Regions from separate parts of the Homo sapiens genome. Here region 2 is linked to region 1. The links are contacts of gene promoters, found by promoter capture Hi-C in human tissues and cell types (Jung and others, 2019). All regions are on one chromosome and are shown on one strand. The core of a region is centred on a gene start or on the middle of the fragment in contact, and the rest is flanking DNA. Distances in the headings are between cores, read along the strand shown. Region 1 holds the start of SEZ6 (seizure related 6 homolog). Region 2 overlaps NUFIP2 (nuclear FMR1 interacting protein 2).

Evidence for each region. The method cuts DNA at HindIII sites, captures the fragments that hold promoters and counts their contacts. A contact is called where the count stands out against the background at its distance.
Region 2: a fragment that was not itself captured here is called in contact with the fragment with the promoter of SEZ6 in region 1 in 2 of the 25 tissues and cell types used here (dorsolateral prefrontal cortex and hippocampus).

Annotation. Positions count from the first base shown.
Region 1 is chr17:29,002,434-29,010,217 of GRCh38, forward strand. SEZ6 (seizure related 6 homolog) reads right to left here and starts at 3,600. Exons shown (of 17, transcript NM_178860.5): 1 at 3,382-3,600. The coding sequence starts at 3,436. The region is part of intron 2 of LOC105371716 (a long non-coding RNA gene); the gene reads left to right. RefSeq lists enhancers at 761-1,387, 1,388-2,012 and a silencer at 3,363-3,546. The HindIII fragment of the contact is 3,335 bases long and covers 1,258-4,592 here.
Region 2 is chr17:29,278,053-29,285,836 of GRCh38, forward strand. All of the region lies in intron 2 of NUFIP2 (nuclear FMR1 interacting protein 2), which reads right to left. Among named protein-coding and RNA genes, the nearest start is that of NUFIP2, 12 kb to the right of the region's middle. The HindIII fragment of the contact is 8,027 bases long and covers 1-7,295 here.

The DNA.
Region 1 (7,784 bases), core at 2,350-4,849:
CCCTGCTGAGGAGGCCAGGATGGCCGCCAGGGCCTGCCAAGCTTAGACCTATGAGGAGCAAAAAGCCAACTCAGGCTTCTCCTGTCCATGGCAGTCTCTGGGTCCTCCAGCCTCCTTGGAAGCCCGGGGCTGGTGGGTGGGGGTGTGCTCCTGCCTGCCATGTCAACCTCTGGGTTTCTGAACAGAATCTGGACTGTCTCCCATGGGGCCTTGTCCCCAGTACCACTTCCTGATCCCGAAGTGCCAGGCTGGGGACAAGGAACAGGACCTAGTATTGGTTTCAGCAGCAGCCCCCAGACTCATGGATGTGCTGTTAGAATCCAGCACCTACCAAGGAGTCTGCAGGAAGCAGCAATTACCATTTTAGGTTAAGGCAGCCCTCGTTTGTTAACCCTTGCAGCACTAGGGCTCCTGGAAGCTGAGTCGTCCTTCCTCTCTTTTCTCCTCCAGACCTTCCCTTCCAGACATCATCCCTCAGTTCTTGGCAGAGTGAGTAACCCAGACTAGCCATCCCCAGGCCCCCTCTATCACCACATTCTCAAGTGGAGCTCAGAGAGGTGGAGCAGCAGGTCCAAGGTCACACAGCCATGGAGGCAGCCTCCATTCCTGAGACCCAACCTTACCCCAGTCTCAGCGGCTTCCACCTTCATAATCTCCCTAGGCCACATTCACACATGCAGAGTTTAATTAACTTTATTGATATTCAGAAATTAGGAGAATGACTAAAGGTAATTGCTCATTAAAAATCATTAAACTGACACAGCAGGCTCGGCACACGCAGCCCCTTCAACACCGCTTTTTCCTCCACTGTGGCTGGATGGCCCAGGCACCCCACACAGCTTGGGAAGATACCCCGTGGCCCAAGACGCCCCTGATGCCTGACGCCAATCAAGACTTGGAGGCTGCAGAAGGGAATAGGGGACTGAGCCTGTGAGCTTGGGCCAAGCCCAGCACGATTTTGCCCTACCTCCGCAGCCTCGGCATACCAGGCCTTCCAAGGCATCTGGGCCGTGCCTGGCTACATCCTGCAGTCTGCATCCTGCCTATGAGCAAAGCTCTGAGGGCCTCATCAGAGAGGTGGCGGGGCTGAAAGGCTGAGGGATGCACCCCTCGGGCCGAAAAGGCTCATAGCCTGAGGTCTTTGCTCCTTTAGGCTCGCCTTCACAAAGCTAAAGTGCCCAGGAACCCCGGGATGGCCAAATGCGCTGCTCCCCACTGAGATGACTCACTATCCCAATGGTTGGGACCTCCAGTCCAGCCGAGGAGAGAGGAGCCTCTGGCTACCCAGCTCTGACATCCCAGCCCTCTCATCCTCAGGCTTGGCACTTCGGGGCTGCCTCTTCGTCTCCCTTGGGGAGTGAAAATAGAGGTCTTTCCCAACAGCCAGACTCCTACCCCACATATCCCACTGGCAGGTGCCTCCATGGGCACTGGAGATCCTGATAGTCAGGAAGGGACACTGCCCAGGGACACACAGACTTGAGGCCACAGAGTGAGCAGATTCCTCCTAACACTCACACCCACATCCCCATCAGGGCTGGTGGGACTCCTGGCCACACCAGCCTTCCTCCTGGATTCCCACAGTCTCACTCTAGCCCTGCAGGGAGCTCTCTGGCTGAGGCTGCACCCACACACTAGTGGCCTCACACAGTCCTCACACCCATTCACTGCTGACCCCTCACCCAAGATTCGGACCACTTGAAGTGCAGACACACTGGGACTGGCTCCTCTAGTCATGCAGGGCCCTGATTACTCTCACATTCAGACCCACAAACTCACACACAAGGCCTTGACTAACTGCCAGGGGACAGACACAGGCCCTGCGCCCCAGGGGAGCTGTCCAGCGCCAGGACCCATCAGGACCCAAGATAGGTTCGGAATTCCTAGGGACATCCCCAGGCAGCTAGGCAGGGATTCACACTTCTCCTTCCCGGTCTTCATCCCTGGGGTGGGTCTTGCAGGACTCTTCCCCTCTCCCCAGAACGTGAGCACACGGTTTCAAGTTCTGGGCGCTGCCGGAGGATCCAGCATGGGCAGCCCGGTAGCGGGGTGAGGACACTGGGCTGTGTGCAAGTGGAGCTAGAGGCTCAGAAAAAGGCTTCTGCGTCTCCGGGGCCACAGTTTTTCTTCCTGGATGAAGAAAACTGCCGTCCGGGGGCCCAGCCTGTCCCTGGCCGCGCTGCCTTGACCTCGGCAGCGGCCTGGAAAGATCGAGCAGGGAGGTTAGAAACTCCCACCCTCACACTTCACATCAGGCCCTTCAAACCATATGGCAAGGGATGGCAGGTCTCAACTCCAAGTGCGGTTCTGCCGACCCTACCAGCCTACTGCAGCGGGAGAAGGACGTGGGTGCCAGTAGCTTCCATGAGAGCTTGTTTGAGCCAGGACGGCAGGTCCAGACAAGACTCTTCCCCGAGGCACGGAACCCCTATCCTCTCCCCAACACTCCCTTGCCGCTCACACCATGGCCAAGCTTCCCTCTACCCAAGACCGACGAAGTTGGGGACCAGACTCCTAGAGGGGGCGCGGGGATTCTCAGGGTGTGGGGAACAGGTCCTCCAGAGACAAATCTGCCTTGCAGGTGGGGAGTGGACCAGGGCCGGGCAGGAAGGCAGGCCGGGAGGGAGGCAGAGCTCGGGGCAGTGGTGTGTGTGTGTGTGTGTGTGTGTGTGTGTGTGTGTGTGTACAAGGAAAGGACTTTGGGGAGGACAGAGTCTCTATCCCAGGATCTCCGCTGCTGCAGCCGAGGGCAGAGCCAGGAGCCAGATAGGGGGTCCAGGCCCTTGGAGTTTCTCTCTAGAATTGTGCTCTAGGTCCCGACTCTGGCGTGGCAGCGCCAGGGCATGGGGAGGTGAGCGAGGTCCCAACCCCGGGTCCGGCCGCCATCCGGCCCCGTCTCCCCTCAGTAAGAACACTAGAGGCCCTGGAACCGGCGGCAAAGTCGAGCGAAGTTTGGCGGGCGGCAGGGGAAGCGGGACCACGGGCCGCCAGCTGGACCGTCCCGACTCACTGCCTTGCGCCCCCCGGCACGCGCCCCAGCACCCTGAGATGCCTAGAGTGTGGCGAGGTAGCGCGCGGGTGAGCGCGTGTGTGCGGGGAGTGGGTGGCGTGATGAATTGCATCAGAGAAATCCCATTAGATCTGGGGAGATGATTAAAGACGAGGTCTCGGCCGGGCGCGAATGGCGGGAGCCGCGGCAGCTTCCCGCCCGCGAAGCCCGCGCCCCGCCCGGCTTGGCCGGCGCCGGGGGCAGCGCAGCCGGCGGGGCGCGGTGCTTGGACTGGGCAGCCAGATGCCCGAAGCTGGGCACCGGGTCTCCCTTCCCACCCCTGGGGCCCCGCTCCCGCCCCCGTCCTGCCGCCGGATGCCGGGGTCCCTTACCGTGAGCCAGGAGCGCCAGCAGCGAGGGCAGGAGCAGCAGGGCTACCGGGCGCATGGTGCTGGTTGCGGCCGCGCCCTGGGCTGGGACCGCGGCGGGAGGGCGGGGGGCTTGGTGGGGCTTGGGCGCGGGGGCAGAGCCGGGTCCGGCCGGGTAGAGGGAGCGGGGCCGCAGCCGTCACCGCCGCTGCCGCCGCCAGCGCCTGACAGAATCAGCACCACGGCCAGCGCCTGGCGACGGCGCCGGGGATCGCCGAGCGGGGCTGGGGGCGGGGGCGCGGGAGGAGCGGCTTACCGTAAAGTCTCATGCAAAGGCGCAGAGACCCAGGGGCAGGAGCCCAGGCTCCCGCTCCACCGCGACTGCCCTACTCATGTGGGCACACGGCCCCTGCCCTTCTGCGCTGCCCACCCCCAGCCAAGCATGCCACCCTCTTTCCCGTTAACGGCCTGCTAAGGAACCTCAATTAATAGCTCACTGTAGCCTTCTGATTCTCCATGAGAAAGAGCAACACTTTCCCCACCCCTCTCCACCCAATCCTGGTACCTGAGGGCGTCAAGGGTGACCTGGGAAGACATCCGAGAGTGAGGCAGCTGGTGAGGCCCGCGTGCCCTTGTGGCAGTTCCGTCTTGGGACGATAATGAAGATGGCTTTTGAGCGTACAAAGGATAATAAATTATTACTTTGCGCTCAATAAATGCCAGGGCTCCAGGCAGCTGCATCAGCAGCAAACTGTGCTCACAGAAAAGCTTAATTATCCTGATATTATAGTTAAAAGCCAGTGGCACTCGCATCCTGGGGAGACATTCTTCACTTGGCAGGAGGCAACCTGGGCCAAGCTGTGGGCAGCTGAAGGTAGTATCCTGGGTCCCCACGTAGCCCTGGGTCTCCAGGACTCTGCCTTGGCCCCTCTGCAGGACCAGAGAAGCCACAGTGACAGTCGATACAGACCCTTCATGCCATCTCTGCCCAGGTTTCTGGAATTGGTGGAGAAAATGGCATAGGCATGAGAGAGGGTTTCCTAGAGCTGTTATTTTATTTTATTTTATTATTGTTTTTAGAGACAGGGTCTCTGTTGCTTAGGCTGGAAATGCAGTGGCACAATTATATTAATAGCTCACCCAAACTCCTGGGCTCAAGAGATCCTCCCACTTCAGCCTCTCAAGTAGCTAGAACTACAGGCATGCACCCCCAAGCCTGGCTAATTTTTAAATTTTTTGCAGAGATAAGGTCTCATTATGTTGCCCAAACTGGTCTTGAAATCCTGGCCTCAAGAGATCCTCCCGCCTTGGCCTCCCAAAGTGCTGGGATTACAGGCATGAGCCACTGTGCCCTACGGCTGTTTTAGATAGAGACTTGAAGGAGGCCCAGGGGTGTAGCCTGTACTATTAAAGGCATGGAAAAATAACTTTCCAGGGCCCTGCTTGGGCTGAGGAGCCCCAGTGAGTCACAGGACAGCAAGGGGGCAGTCACAGCTGTGCCATCCTGAGGCTGCTCTTTAAAGGCAGGGGCTCATGGATGGGCTCACTTGAAGAGCTTTAATGGGTACAATGGGACAGGATCCTATGGCTGATGTTATTATTCCCTGTAGAGGAATAGGAGGGCTGAACTCCCTATTGCCCCTGGGAGAAGGGCAGTTTTTTGTTTAGTTTCTTTTTACATGAACTTGGTTGCTCTCCAAAGCTTCCAGACTCCAGTCATTGTCCAGTGTCCTTCCTGACCCTCATCCTGGAAGCAGGTGGTGAAATTTCTGCTCAAGTTCCTTAGAGAGTGTTTTGGTCCTCTTGACCAGAGTCTCCCAACTCTGCTGGTTGGATTCTCTCCAGACCCTCTTCTTGTGGGCTCTGGGGAGCTGTGATGACTGCTGTAAAGAGTCCCAGGCAGCAGGCAGATGGCGTGTGGAATTAGGAAGACGCTGGGATTTCTGGACAGTTGTTTTGAGAAGCTGAGGAAAAAGAGGGCAGCAGCAGAAGGATGGCAGGAAGAAGGAGGAGCTGATGCAAGAATCAGGGGTGAGGAGAGGAAGCCAGGAAAGAAGGTGCAAGAGGGGAGGCAGAAAGAGAGTTGCCAACAGAGGAAGGGAAGAGACACAGAGGTAGAAGGTTGTGTGACCGGGGGAAGTTTAGGAAAATGCTGGCAAATGTCATGAGATTCCTCTTTTCCTCCTTGAAAGTATTCCTGGGCTCCTCTAGTATTCCTGGTCCCTCATGGCTAGGCAGCTTGGGCAAGGGGAGTGAGTCATGACCTAGGGATGAATCTTGTATTGCCAGGATGATTCATGGGGATTTGGAGGTTGGTGGCAGGCTTGTCTGACTCTCTTAGCAACAGGGCTCCTTGATGGGCTGGGCACTATGCACATAAAGGAGGGGGAGAGAAGCCATCCTGGAACTTGTCACATCACCTTCCCTATGGCCTGAACTAACCTAGAGGGTCCAATGGAGACTACAAGTCCCAGAATACAGTACTGTACCCTGAGCTCAGAAGATGGGCTTGTACTGCATGATGGGCATGACAATGCACCGGGGCTGTCCCTCCCTCCTAAAGGCAGTTAACATAGCCTTTATGCAGTGGGTTCCTAGGCAGGTTGAGGCAGAGCCTGGGCCAAACTGGGAAACAGCAGAGCTTCTGTCAGGTGCCCTCTATCATGCCCTCCAAGGGGCTCGTCCTAACCAGACCTTGATATTACCTACAAATTGAGAACAATAAAATGCCCAAGGGGACAATCAGCTGTATACAGGGCTGGCAGGCTTATAGTCTACTCAATTCATAGGCACCTTTGAAAGTGGCAGTCTGGGTGGACTTGCAAGGCTCCCCTCACTGCTCTCACTTCTGTTCTCTGCATCCCCCACCTGGCTTTTTGCTCCCAGAGAACCCTGGGCTTCCCCTGTCTGTGTAATTGCTTGCTTAATTGTCTGTCTGCTCTACTAGTTGTTGACTTTGCGAAGGCACAGACCGTGTCTGTCTCATCTACCCACAATCTAGCTCAGTGGCTGGCACATAGTAGATGTTCAATAAATATTTGTGAATAAACAACAGGGATGAGGAGTGTCTAAAGCCCAAGGCCGGTCATTGGTGTCAAATGAGTGCTGTGAGATAATGAAGAAAAGGGCAATTGTTTCTTTTGGGGATGAGGCAAGGTCAGTGAAATCTTCACACAATGGATGGGTGAAACCAAGTTGAATATGTTTTTAAAAATTAATTAATTAATTTTTGAGACAGGTTCTTACTCTGTCACCCAGGCTGGGATGCAGTGGTGTGATCAGGGCTCACTGCAGCCTTGACTTCCTGGGCTGAAGTGATTCTCCCATCTCAGCCTCCTGAATAACTGGGACCACAGGCATGAGCCAGCATGCCCAGCTAATTTTTTACTTTTTTGTAGAGATGAGGTCTCTGTATGTAGTCCAGGCTGGTCTCAAATTCCTGGGCTCAAGTGATCCTCCCACCTTGGCCTCCCAAAGGACTGAGATTACAGGCATGAACCACTGCCCCTAGCCCAAATAAGTCTTATGATTCAATGGAGAGGGAGAGGGAAGACATTCAAAGTTGGGGGGTGTAGTTTATGCACAGCGTTGGAAAATGCAAGCTAGTCTGGGTCAGTGAGAAGACTGGTTCTGCTGGAGCAGAGTCCCTGCTGGGAAGTAGGAGAAAGGGCTAGAGTAGGCTGGGGCCTAGCTGTGAATGGCTTGGTGGTCACCTGAGCTGAAGGACATCCTTGGTGGCTATACTGAAGGGATTACCCCATCACGAAGATATTTGCACTGAAACAGAGCAATCTGGCATCATTAAGGTATGTTTTCAAGCACTGTGGCAAGTGGTAGGAACTGTGGGGTTCACTGCTGACTCCGAAGCCAGGGGGTGGGGTGTGTGTCTGAGCTACAGTGACTGAATTAGGTTTGAGAGACCAGAGAGAGGGAAGAAGGGGCTCTTCAATCCCAGACACCCCAACCCCTGCCCAGACAAAGCCAGACATACATAGAGCCCCCATCCATCCATTGAAGCTGGAGAAGCCAGCTTTACTTCCCCAGTTCCAAACAGCCCATCAATCTGTAGGATCACAGGCACATTGGTGACTTATTTTGAAGTCTCTGCTGAGATGACACTTGCTTTCTGCACGAGAGGAGGAGAAAATTACTCTCTTCTAAGACAGCTTTCAAACCAGAGCTATATCTTTTGTGGAGCCAAAGGGGTTTTGGTGTTTCAGGGAGGCAAGGGCAGGGGCTGCCACCTCACTCCAGAGGCTCCCAGGGGTTCAGAGCTGCCTGCTTACCTCAACCCACTTCATGGAGCAGGATTCCAGACCTTGCAGCTCCTGGAACAGTCAGGGATGCCAGTGCTCCAGCCAGGGCTCCCTGCATTACCCAAAGTCAACCCATTGAATTTAGGGGCAGGAGGAGGGCCCTGCTCTGAT
Region 2 (7,784 bases), core at 2,032-4,531, 280 kb after region 1:
TTTCAAGTAATTCTGAATTAAGGTAGTTAGAAGTCACCACCTTTTCAGTAGACCCCTTAATGAACTCTTTTCTGAAGCTACAACAATCCAGGATAAGAAGAATTATCCAGACTACTCCTAAATAGAAACTCGGAACTCAAGTTGTTTTTGTTATTTTTCTCTTTTCTATTGCTCTTATTCTAATCTCATGTACTTTATTATTATTTTTTTTTGAGACAGAGTCTCGCTCTGTCCCCCAGGCTAGACTGCAGTGGCGCGATCTCGGCTCACTGCAAGCTCCACCTCCCGGGTTCACGCTATTCTCCTGCCTCAGCCTCCCGAGTAGCTGGGACTACAGGTACCCGCCACTGCGCCCGGCTAATTTTTTGTATTTTTAGTAGAGACGGGGTTTCACCGTGTTAGCCAGGATGGTCTCGATCTCCTGACCTCGTGATCTGCCCGCCTCGGCCTCCCAAAGTGCTGGGATTACAGGAATTGAGCCACCACGCCCGGCCCCCCATGTGCTTTATAAGGGTAAAAGTTGCTTGGAATGAAACTGCTACTACTATGATAGTAATAGCTTGGAATGAAACTGCTACTACTATGATAGTAATAAACAATTTCTGGTTTTGCTACTATCATTATAGTAACAGTGTCTGCTCTTCTTACAGCATAGATGGTTATTTCCCTCACACTCAGGACTTAAGCTAGTGAAATCTGGAAGTTAAATTTTAACTTCCAAAAATTCCTTACAAGTGATCTTTCACCAGTATCAAGGTGAATATATTATTACTGTATTCATAAAGCAGACATCATGAAACATCAAGCAGTCAGTATGGGTACTAAACAGCCAGTATGAGTTCTCTCACTGGGAGAAAGGGGACCTTATCCCATATTAGGAATTATTTGTTATATTCATTACTATATGTCCCACATCATTATATCCTCATAAACAAGTACCCTTTCCAAATCTAGGGAATCCAACCAGGGCTAAAACCAAGGCAAATCTTAAAACTGTCAAATTTGCAGGCACACATTAATAAGATTATTAGAAAGACAGCTGTGATGTCAAATAGGCATTCAGGAAGCAATTGCAATGAAATGCAGTAAACGTGAAAATACTTATTCACATTGTGTTTAGAAGAGAAAATTTAATATTCAGATCCTTCTCTGAACAATGTCCAAACTGTACACCTAGTCCTTGTCAATTTTATGGATTAATCATAATTTGTCTCTTCATATCCTGTTTCCCAAATCTTGTTATGTAATCTTATCTGTTCCCTTATGCCCTTTCCCAATCTAAAAGCTTTTTAAAAAATTTTTTTTAAAATTCAGATCATTTACATGGTTGAAAATACAAAGCAGAAGACCTTTATTATACCTCTGCCTGCACTATTCCAAGAAACTGATCTTCTAGTCAACAGAAAAATGGCTTCCAGTCTACCCAAATTGGTGCCATATTAATCTACCTCAACACAGATCTGTAAGTAATTGCTTAATACCAACTGTTGTATGTTTTTGAGACAGGGTCTCACTCTGTTGCACAACCTTGAGTGCAACAGCACGATTATGGCTCACTGCATCTTTGACCTCTTGGGCTTGGTGATATCCTCCATCTCAGCCTCCACATGCCACCATGCCCAGCTAATGCTTCAAATTTTTTTGTAGAAATCAGGACTTGCTATGTTGCCCAGGCTGATCTCAAACTCCTGAGCTCAAGTGATTTTCCTGCCTCACTTCAAAAATGCTAGGATTATAGGCAAGAGCCACAGTACCCAGACTATTTTTATTTTCATTTTTTGAGGTGAAGTCTTGCTGTGTCTCCTAGGCTGGATAGAGTGCAGTGGTGTGATCTCAGCCCACTGCAACTTCCACCTCCCAGATTCAAGCGATTCTCCCACCTCAGCCTCCCAATTAGCGGAGACTACAGGCCTGCACCACTATGCCTGGCTAATTTTTGTATTTTCATAGAGATGGGGTTTCGTCATGTTGGCCAGGTTGGTCTCAAACTCCTGACCTCAGGTGATCCACCCGCCTCAGCCTCCCAACGTGCTGGGATTACAAGTGTGAGCCATGTCCGGCCCCAGCCTATTTTTAAATGAATATTCCAAAATGTCAGCATTTCAAATGCTTCATATCCTTCAGTGCCATAACAGCCATGTAAGACAGATCAACCCAGTTTAAATTGGCACTGTGACCAAACACACAACTCATATCAATTATTATTTCCAAAGACTTGGCTTCAAATGACTTTCAACCATTTCAAAATCAAAAGTTTACTTCAAAAAGTTAGGATCTAGTGTTCAAAGCTTTTAAAGTCAAGTCAAAGAGAGGCTTGCTAAGCATTCTGAGATAACTACTTTTAAGAAGGCACAGTTATATGTCCCAGGTATGTACACTAAGAGCCATCACAAGCTAAGCATGGTGGCTCATGCCTGTAATCCCAATACTTAAGGAGGCTGAAGCAGAAGGATCACTTGAGGGCAGGAATTCCAGACCAGCCCAGACAACATGGGTGGTAGCGCAAACCTATGGTCCCAGCTACACAGGAGGCTGAGGCGGGAGGATTCCTTAAGCCCAGGAGTTCAAGGGTGCAGTGAGCTAGGATCATACCACTGCATTCCAGCCTGAGTCACAGGGTGAGACCCTGTCTCTTAAAAAAGAGCCATCACAGCCAGGTGTGGTGGCTCATGCCTGTAATCCCAGCACTTTCGGAGGCGGAGGTGGGCGGAGAACTTGAGGTCAAGAGTTCAAGACCAGTCTGGCCAACATGGCGAAACCCCGTCTCTACTAAAAATACAAAAAAATTAGCCGGGCACGGTGGTACATGCCTGTAATCCCAGTTACTCGGGAGGCTGAGGCAGAATCGCTTGAACCCAGGAGGCAGAGGTTGCAGCGAGCCAAGATCGCACCATTGTACTCCATCCTGGGTGACAGAGTGAGGCTCCGTCTCCAAAAAAAAGAAAGGAAAAGAAAAGTTAGGACAGGCATGGTGGCCCACACCTGTAATCCTAGCACTTTGGGAGGCTGAGGCAGGAGGATCCCTTGAGGCCAGGAGTTCAAGACCAGCCTGGGTAAAATACACAGACACCGTCACTATATGTATATATACATATATAAAAAATACAAGAATTAGCTGGGCAGCCGGGCACGGTGGCTCATGCCTGTAATCCCAGCTACTAGGGAGGCTGAGGCAGGAGAAATCACTTGAACCTGAGAGGCGGAGGTTGCAGTGAGCCGAGATCACGCCACTGCACGCCAGCCAGGGCGACAGTGTGAGACTCCATCTCAAAAAAATAAAAATAAAAAAATTAGCTGGGCATTGCGGTGCACACCTGTGGTCCCAGCTACTCAGGAGGCTGAGGCAGGAGGATCACTTGAGCCCAGGAGCTCAAGGCTACAGTGAGCTATGACCACACCACTGTACTCCAGCCTCAACAACACAGCAACACCCTGTCTCAAAAAAAAAGAGAAAAGTTAATGGCATAACATATTATATAAAAAGCTAAAAGAGGCCAGGCATGGTGGCATACACCTGTAGTACTAGCTACTCAGGAGGCTGAGGAAGGAGGAGAGCTTCAGCCCAGTTCCAGGCTGCAATGAGCTACGATAGTGCCACTGCACTCCAGCCTGGGTGACAATGAGATCCTGTCTCTTTAAAAAAAAAAAAAAAAAAAACAGCTAAAAGGAAAATCCCACACAAGGAATTAGAATCCACACAAATCCCGCCACCCCCCACCCTTTTTTTTTTTAGAAGGAGCCTTGCTCTGTCGTCCAGGCTGGAGTGCAGTGGCACGATCTCAGCTCACTGCAACTTCCACCTCCCGGGTTCACGCCATTCTCCTGCCTCAGCCTCCCAAGTAGCTGGGACTACAGGTGCCTGCTACCACGCCCGGCTAATTTTTTGTATTTTTAGTAGAGATGGGGTTTCACTGTTAGCCAGGATGGCCTCGATCTCCTGACCTCGTGATCCACCCTCCTTGGCCTCCCAAAGTGCTGGGATTACAGGCGTGAGCCACCGCACCCAGCACAAATCCCCTTTTTATGCTCTATTGTATCTTTACTTCATACCCTCAATTGTACTTAACACTCAAATTTTTAAAAATCCATAGTACGCTTAAGGTTCCAAGTAATTGCTTAATCTAAAAACTTCCTGTATTAAAAAAAGCCCTTGCCAGAAGCTGCCGCCATGCACTTGGACTTCCCAGCCGCCAAAACCTTGAGTCAAATAAACACCTTTCTTTGTTGGGTGCAGTGGCTCACACCCGTAATCCCAGCACTTTGGGAGGCCAAGGCAGGTGGCTCATGAGGTCAGGAGACCAGCCTGACCAACACGGTAAAACCCTGTCTCTACTAAAAATACAAAATTAGCCAGGCATGGTGGCGTGCACCTGTAATCCCAGCTACTCAGGAGGCTGAGGCAGGAGAATCGCTTGAACCCAGGGGGCGGAGGTTGCAGTGAGCCAAGACTGTGACACTGCACTCCAGCCTGGGCAACAGAGCAAGACCCCATCTCAAAAAAAAAAAAAACCACCAAAAAACAAAATAAAAACACCTTTCTTTATATAAGTTAAATAAATAGTGCACCATTCTTAAAGAAGTGACATAACGCACTCTCTTACCCACTATTTCCAAATTAAGTTGCTGAAGGGCTTATTTTTGAAGTCAGGAGAAATGCAGAGAACTTCCAATTCTAAGCCCAACTTCAACTACTCACTTAGAGATTACTACTGAACATCTGAAAACTACACTAAAGCACAAAGAAAATAATACAGATGTTCTTAAAGGATATTCCAGTAGCCCAACTGATTATTACTTCTTTTAGAGTTAACTTTAAAAAAAAAAGGCTTCACTTATAAAAGATCTCCAAATATAATTCAAGTAAAGAAAAATGAGTGGCCAATGGACTGCTAATGGACCAATCAACATTTGGCAGGAATTCAAAGAACTTGCTACTCTGGAACCCAATTGAACTGAGTATTATTTATTGTTCTAGAGGGGTAAAAATTTTGATGCCAATCTGATTAATTTCCAATCATGTCCAAATACAGAACTCAAGATGACACTTTACCTACAGCAAATTTTTTCATTAATACCAGCAAAACTAAATATAACTGCACCCATATAGGGGTATTCAGCTTATATAAATACCACTGATTTCATATTCAGCTAGCCCATGGATAGGGAAAATGCATAAAGAGTAAATTCAGGTTAACATTCCAATTTAAAAATGGCCTGCAATTCCACCTAATAGAAATTGTACATAAGAACTATTAACCAGTTACCTAATGGAACATATCCTACACATTTTGTTGTTTTGTTTTGAGACACGGTCTCACTCTGTTGCCCAGGCCTGAGTGCAGTGGTGCAAACATAGCTCACTGCAGACCTGGATCTCCCAGGGACAAGTGATCCTCCCTCCTAAGCCTCCCAAGTAGCTGGGACTACACATTGTTGCCCAGGCTGGTCTCAAATTCCTGAGCTCAAGTGATCCTCCCACTTCGGCCTCCCAAAGTGCTGGGATTACAGTCATGACCCACCACACTGGGCCTCCCAGAATATTTTGGAGGTGGTAAGAGAACACAACACAACCAGATACCCTCTCAGGCTCACACAATGATCGCCAGTGCAAAATACTTCGGTAAACATTTTCCAGTAATAGTCTCTAGAGGGCAGACGGCACAGAAAACAATACCAAAAAACCCAACTCTCCTGGCAGAGGTTAACTAATGTATAACACATGTCTTAAAAAACGAAGCATTTATCTTTTTGCCCTAACATTGCTAAAAACAACCAACTCCTGTATTTACCTTCAAAGAGCAGAGCTGGAGAATAAGTGAAATCAGGTAAATGTTATCTGTGAGGATTCCTAAACTTCCATTAAGCAATTCTACTACTTCCATTTTTAAGGAAGTAAAATGATATTAAAAGGACATCTATTTATTATACTCAATGTCTTCCAGCTTGCAGATAAGGAAACGTATGCAGACTAGGAAATTTGCTTAGAAGTCACAAATCACTTTGTTATTCATCCCTGAGGCAGTATTTCTTCCAGAGAGAATATGGTAATTACCCAATTCCCACAATCTGGTATGGTCCCCTTTCCCTGCAATTGTAAGTCACTGCCTAAATGAGCCACTGTTAAAATGGGAATGTGCACTATGTATTAAGTGTGTACATGCATGCATGGAGCATACATTTCTGTTAGAGAAAGGAGGAAGAGGTAGGAAAGATGGGAAGACTGAAACCCACTGTTCTCAAAAGCAAAAGGATATAAACATCATCGTTAAACCTCATTATTTGCTCTAAGGATTTAGATTACAGTTATGCCATACAGCGAATTTTTCTTTAAGACACAAACAAACCACATTCTAAGAAAGTGATTAACATGAGGCCTGGCACGGTGGCTCACACCTGTAATCCCAGCACTTTGGGAGACCCAGGTGGGTGGATCACCTGAGGTCAGGAGTTTGAGACCAGCCTGGCCAACACGGTGAAACCTCATCTCTACTAAAAATATAAAAATTAGCCAGGCGTGGTGGTGGGCACCTGTAATCCCAGCTACGTGGGAGGCTGAGGCAGGAGAATCACTTGAACCCGGGAGGCGGAGGTTGCAGTGAGTCAAGATTGCGCCACTGCACTCCAGCCTGGGTGACAAGAGTAAGACTCCATCTCAAAAAAAAAAAAAAAAAAAAAGAAAAAAAAGAAAAGAAAGTTATTAGCGTGAAACTTGAAAGATACCTGGTTCCCTTTAAACTTGGGCTTTAGGGCTATGAAAAGGAGAATCCCAAGAGCCTGGTCTCAACTATGCTAATCATACTTGACACTGTGATTTGTCTAACTTATTTTCCAGTTACAAACTGGCATCCATTACTCCAAGACTTATCAGTCTCCTCTTCAAAAACAGTGCTTCTACTCATTTTAATCAAATTAGAACTATTAAATGAGCTCACTATTAAAGACGCATATGATATAAAAAGCAAAGGAGAGGCTGGGCACGGTGGCTCACACCTGTAATCACAGCACTTTGGGAAGCAGAGGCGGGCGGATCACGAGGTCAGAAGTTTGAGATCAGCCTGGCCAACACGGGGAAACCCGTGTCTACTGAAAATACAAAAATTAGCTGGGCGTGGTGGCGCATGGCTGTAATCCCAGCTACTCGGGAGGCTGAGGCAGGAGAATCACCTGAACCCAAGAGGCGGAGGTTGCAGTGAGCCAAGATCACACCACTGCACTCCAGCCTGGGTGAGAGAGTGAGACTCTGTCTCAAAAACAAATAAGCAAATGGGTGTGGTGGCTCACACCTGTAATCCCAGCACTTTGGGAGGCCGTGGGTGGATCACAAGGTCAAGAGGTCAAGACCATCCTGGCCAACATGGTGAAACCCCGTCTCTACTAAAAATACAAAAATTAGCCGGGCATGGTGGTGCGTGCCTGTAATCTCAGCTACTCAGGAGGCTGAGGCAGGAGAATCACTTGAACCTGGGAGGTGGAGGTTGCAGTGGGCCGGGATTACGCCACTGCACTCCAGCCTGGCAAGAGAGTGAGACTCCATCTCAAAGAAAAAAAACACAAAACAAAACAAAAAAGCAAAGACAAAAAAGCCACGGAAGGAGAACATATGTTCAATAAAATTTTTTTTCAAGCACTCAGTCAAGAGAAAATATAACATCAATACCTTTAAGCAAGTTCTCCTCACTTCTGTTCTTTGAACCAGGTAGGTCAATTATGTTTGTATTTTTAAAAATCCTTTTAAGTTGGAAAAGTGAACATTTCTTCTAAATTTTAATCATACTAGTTCCAAG